Linked DNA regions of Homo sapiens: region 2 is linked to region 1. Evidence: promoter capture Hi-C in 16 types of primary human blood cells and fetal thymus (Javierre and others, 2016). All regions are on one chromosome and are shown on one strand. The core of a region is centred on a gene start or on the middle of the fragment in contact, and the rest is flanking DNA. Distances in the headings are between cores, read along the strand shown. Region 1 holds the start of CYBC1 (cytochrome b-245 chaperone 1). Region 2 holds the start of FASN (fatty acid synthase).

The links. Contacts are between HindIII fragments. The CHiCAGO score rates a contact against its expected background, and 5 or more counts as called.
Region 2: a contact is called between the fragment with the promoter of FASN here and the fragment with the promoter of CYBC1 in region 1, in 5 of 17 cell types (non-activated CD4 T cells, activated CD4 T cells, fetal thymus and 2 more). The highest score is 9.0, in non-activated CD4 T cells.

What each region holds. Positions count from the first base shown.
Region 1 is chr17:82,449,462-82,452,043 of GRCh38, forward strand. CYBC1 (cytochrome b-245 chaperone 1) reads right to left here and starts at 1,291. Exons shown (of 7, transcript NM_001033046.4): 1 at 1,239-1,291. RefSeq lists an enhancer at 102-361 and a silencer at 992-1,351. The HindIII fragment of the contact is 1,869 bases long and covers 172-2,040 here.
Region 2 is chr17:82,096,962-82,099,543 of GRCh38, forward strand. FASN (fatty acid synthase) reads right to left here and starts at 1,275. Exons shown (of 43, transcript NM_004104.5): 1 at 1,160-1,275. RefSeq lists an enhancer at 1-499 and silencers at 368-417, 478-687, 708-897, 968-2,447. The HindIII fragment of the contact is 59,862 bases long and covers 1-2,582 here.

The DNA.
Region 1 (2,582 bases), core at 41-2,540:
CCCCCAGAGACCCCGTTTCCTGTGTAAGGAAGGCCCTTTTCCGTTCACAGCGACACCGACTGCGCGGGGGCTGTTTCCCGCTCAGACTCACGAGCTACAGCTGCATCACCACCTGCCCCGTCCTGTCTGGAAACCTTATGTCCTGAGGCCGCTAGCCCCCAGCAGCCTTTAAGCTTCTAGCATCTGTGGGCACCCCCTCTCCCCTGTGCTGGCCTCCACCAAGAAAGGAACTGAAAGTCCCATCATGGCTTCCGGCCGTACTGGCTCTCGCACTGGCATGGACCAACGATCTCAGCTCTCTCTCTGCCCTCCTCCACCTGCTGAAAGTTCAGACTGCACAGTAGAGGGTCCCAAAGCGGCCAGAACCGACGAGTCACCAAAGGGGCTAATCTTCCACAGCGGAGTTCCGCACGGGCGCAGCAGCCCTGCCACTTCACCGTACGCTCCCAACACTGGCCCCAGGGACCCCGTTCTGGTAGTTTCTCAGGGCTTTCCCTGTGAAGTCAAATCAAATTTCTGACATTAAGTAGGGGGTTCAGGCTGGGCGCGGTGGCTCAGGCCTGTAATCTCAGCACTTTGGGAGGACGAGGCGTGCGGATTGTTTGAGTCACGGAGTTCAAGACCAGCCAGGGCAACGTGGCGAAACCCCGTCTCCACAGAAAATACATAAAACAGCCCGGTGTGGTGGTGTACGCCTGTGGTCCTAGTTATTCAGGAGGCTGAGCTGGGAGGATCACCTGAGGCCGGGAGGTGGAGGCTGCAGTGAGCAGAAATCGTGCCACTGGACTCCAGCCTGGGTGACAGAGTGAGACCGTGTCTCAAAAAAATAAAAAATAGTGGGTTCAAATCACACAAACCAATCCTAGATGCTGGTATATGACTGGGCTCCCTCCCGGGCCTCAGTTGCCTCATTGCTCCCGAAACACCCGGCATTCCACATCCAAATGCACACACACACGCACACTCGCGGACACAAGCACACGCGCGCTGGCAAAGCCGCCCGCGCCGCTAGTCGCACCGAGCGCTCGTTTCTTTGTCCGGATCGGGGGCGCTCCCGCCGCCGGGGCCAACCTGCAGCGGAACAGGCGCGAGGCCGCCCGCGACGGGCACGGCGGGACACGGAACAGCCGGCAGGCGGGCCCAGGACGCAGACCCCTCCCGGAGTGGGCCTAAGGGTGCCGGGACGCGCGGCACGGAGCGGGAAGGAAGTGCGGAGCCCACCCAGCCCAGCCGCCTACCGAGAGCACAGCGGTCCCCGCGCCGCAGCAGAGAGACGCGAACCGGCGGGGGCGGGGCCGCGCGCACTTCCGGGATTGGAGCGGAGCCGAGCCGACTTTCGGGGGCGGGGCCGCGCGCGCTTCCGGGATTGGGGGCGGGGCCGCGCGCGCTTACGGGATTGGGGCGGGGCCGCAAGCATTTCCTGGATGGGGCGGAGCCGAGCGGATTTCCGGGATCCGGGCGGAGCCGCAGGAGGAGGCGGGTGGTTCCTGCTAAAGAAGCCAGTTTTCTTGAAAAAAAGAAACGTGCGGGGAAACGTATCCGACAGCAAAGAACTTACCAAGGACTATGAACGTCTTGCTAACATAGAAGCGAAACTGAAGCGGTTCTCATTGCCAAAAAAGAAGATTTGAGCATGAATAAGAACAGGAATTCGAGTGAATTTAAAATCCTCAGATGCTCCAGTCTGTAATTCATAATAATGTATTTTTTAACTCTGTTCACCTTTGGAGGATGCTGGTAAGCTCACCCCAGTTTGTGGCCTGGTTAATAAAAGGAAAGCATCAAGCATTTGTCCTGCCTTTATGAAATTTACAGCAGAGTAACCAAATACTGCATGAGAAGAATTTCTCATTATAGAAGTTTTCCCGCTAATAAATGAAGAAGAAACAGTAGGATTAAAACATCACCCTATGAATTAACGGACCTAGGCAATGTCATCAATGACTGCTAATTAACATCGCAAAAAGGTCAGTTAGATATCAGAAGTACACAACACTATGAAGTAGTCTTGCCAGAAAAAATTTAACCTGAATGTGAACAAGCTTCTAGAGTGAATTACTGGAAATGTGGAAGACAAGACTGTACTAAAGGATTCTACAAGGATACAGTCAGCAATTCGAAACCTCAACCATCTGAATGGACCCTTCCGCTTGGCCAAGAGCATTCCCAAGTTATCCTGAAAAACTAGCTCAGGCAGTGATGGGAAGGGGGAGACAGACATACCTCACTCCCTCCTCCCTTTTGGAATTCAGGCACACAGCTGACCAGCATTCACATTAAAACAGATCTTGAGGTGGCCAGGTGCGGTGGCTCACGCCTGTAATCCCAGCACTTTGGGAGGCCAAGGTGGGCAGATCACGAGGTCAGGAGATTGAGACCATCCTGGCTAACACAGTGAAACCTCATCTCTACTAAAAACACAAAAAAATTAGCTGGGCGTGGTGGCGGGTGCTCATAGTCCCAGCTACTCGGGAGGCTGAGGCAGGAGAATGGCGTGAACCCGGGAGGCAGAGCTTGCAGTGAGCCGAGATCGTGCCACTGCTCTCCAGCCTGGGCAACAGAGTGAGACTCCATCTCAATAA
Region 2 (2,582 bases), core at 25-2,524, 350 kb before region 1:
GAGGTGGCTGGGAGCCCTAGAGGGGGGTACTCAGCACCCATGCTCACCCGTGTTGGGGTGGGGGCCCGCTGTCCAGGCCAGCCCAAGAGCCACCAGGGCTGGGGAGGGACGAAATGGGGATAGCCTATGCTCTGGGGGAAAGGTGGCCCCTGCCCCACTGTGGACCGACCCAGCCAGTCCAACCCCTCCAGCAGGGTCCAACCTGGAGAACCACTCCTGGCCAGGACACGCAGGTGTTGCCTGGCACCCTTCACCTGCGCGGGTGAACCCACAGACGCTTGCCTCCCCATACCAACCCACACACCACAGGAGGCCCTCCCTGGAGCCCAGGTCCCTAAGACCCGGAACGGGTGCCCAGGCCGCCGGCTCCTCCTCCAGCATGAGGGCTGGTGCGGCCCTGGGGGGAGGGGGCGGAGGCCAGCGCTGGTCTGGCCACTTGCACGAGGCCCCAGGGCCTGATACGCGCGCCGCCCCTCGGCAGTGCGGCCTCCCTTGGGCCGTCCCGGCAGGGAGGCGGCCGCCTTCCCACCCGCTGCGATTCACAGAGGCTTGGCTGCCCCGGGCCAGCTCCAGGCCCGCACGCTGGGTCCTCGCCGCTTGCTATTCACGCGGGGTCGACGGCCAGGCAGGGGGTGGGAACACCGCGGCGCGCCCGGCCTCCCTTCGCCCCGGGCGGGGGCTGCTCGGGACCCCTGCGCTTCGGCCGGGCTGCGCCACGTGATGGGGAGGCCGGTCCCGGCGCGGCCCCTGCGCCCCCCCGTTCCTCCCTCGCGGCGTCCCCTTCGGGCTGGGCCTCGGCTCCGGGGCGGCTCCGGGAGGAGGATGCGGCGGCGCCTTTGTGGGCGCGGGGAGGCCGAGCCGGGGGCTCCTCCAGGCCCTTCAGGGTCCGCGGCCTCCCCCACGGGAAGCGAAGGCGGCTGTTGGTGGCTTTCCCCGGCGTCCTTCCCCCGCCATCCGCCCACCTACTCCGCGGGGCCCCGGGCGCCTCCGAAGGGGCACGAACACCGAGACCCGGACAGGCCGCCCAGGCGACCCCTGGATACGGGGCCGGGCCACGCGCGCCCCGAGAGCGGAGGATGAGGAGCCGGGCCACCCCGGGAACCCCGGGCCCAGCCCCGACCACGACCCGCGCCCCGGCCCCAGCGCCGGCTGCTCGTACCTGGTGAGGGCGCGGGCGGCGGTGCGGGCGGCGGAGAGCGAGGCTGGAGCGCGGCGGAGCGGGAGGCTGAAGCGCGGCGGAGAGGGAGGCCGGGGCCGCTGCCGTCTCTCTGGCTCCCTCTAGGCCGGCGCCGACGCTATTTAAACCGCGGCCATCCCCGGGCGGCCACGCCACATGGGCTGACAGCTTGGCTGCGCCGCCCAGGCCAATGAGCGTCGGGGCTGCGCCCCGGGACCCGGCGCGCCGCCGCCGGTGGGGTGATGCTCGTGCGCGCCGCCGCCCGAGCCGGGACCCTGCGCGGGAACGCGCCTGGGGGGGTGGGGCTGGGACTGAGGAGCGCCGGGGGCGGGGCGGGCGGGAAACCACCGCCCCCCGACTTCCGCCTCCCGCCCCGCGGGCCCCGACGCGCACGCGGCTGCGACCGAGCCCGCGGCGCGCCTCCCGAGCCATCCCCGACCCCCGTGTCCGCCGGGGCCACGTGTGCGGGATGGGAATGCTTGGGCCACACTGGGGACTACCCCGTGGCCACACCGGGGGTCCAGCCGGCTGCGGCGGGGCGCTCGGACCCACAGGCGCGCGGAAGGACGGACGGACCCGCGTGCCCGCACTTCGGCCGCCGACTCCACGCCGCCGTCGCTGCCCGCGCGGAGCTGGCTGAGGGCGCGGCGTTGCGCGGCGCGGCGGCAGCAGCAACCAATCGGGCGCCAGGGGTGTTCGCACCGGCCCAATGGCGGCGCGCGGGTGGGCGTTGCTAGGCGATAGGGTGATGGGCGGGCGGCGGGGCGGTCCCGGATGCCTCGCGGGCCGCGGCGCAAGTGCGGGCGTTGACCCCGGCCGCGGGCGCCCCGGCCGGGGTTACTGCCGGTCATCGCAGCGCATCCCCGGTTTTCCTCGCGGGTGCGGCGGGGAACCCAGACCCGAGACGGACGTCCACCCACCCGACGGCCCCTCCTTAGCAGCTTCCCGGGGACCCGGACGAGGCGCAGGGCCGAACGGGCGAGCGCACTCCAGGCCGCTGGAGCTCGGCGGAGGGGAGGGGCGCGGCCACGTGGCGAGCGGAGTCGGCCGGGACACCCACCTGGTGTGGTGCGGACAAAGGGAGCCGCTGCCCCACTTCCCAGGGCGGAGGCTGCGAGTTTTCCAGGCGCGCACCCACGGGCGGGGGCTCAGCCCGGCCCTCGCGCGCTCCCTCCCTCCCGAGTGATTCCTCGAATCGTGGCCCCTTGGGCGGCCTGAGCCCTGAAGCGCGGCCTCCCTTTTCTGACCGCTTCGCGCTTGCGGGGCCAGGCACCCCATGGGGGGCAAGCGGGCCTTGTGAGGCCACAGGTGTCTCTGGCTGCGTGTCCTACTTTGAGGGCTCAGCAAGCCCGGGCCGCTGAAGGGGAACCGGAGACTGGGGCCCCCGGCCCCTCTGCAGGTGTCC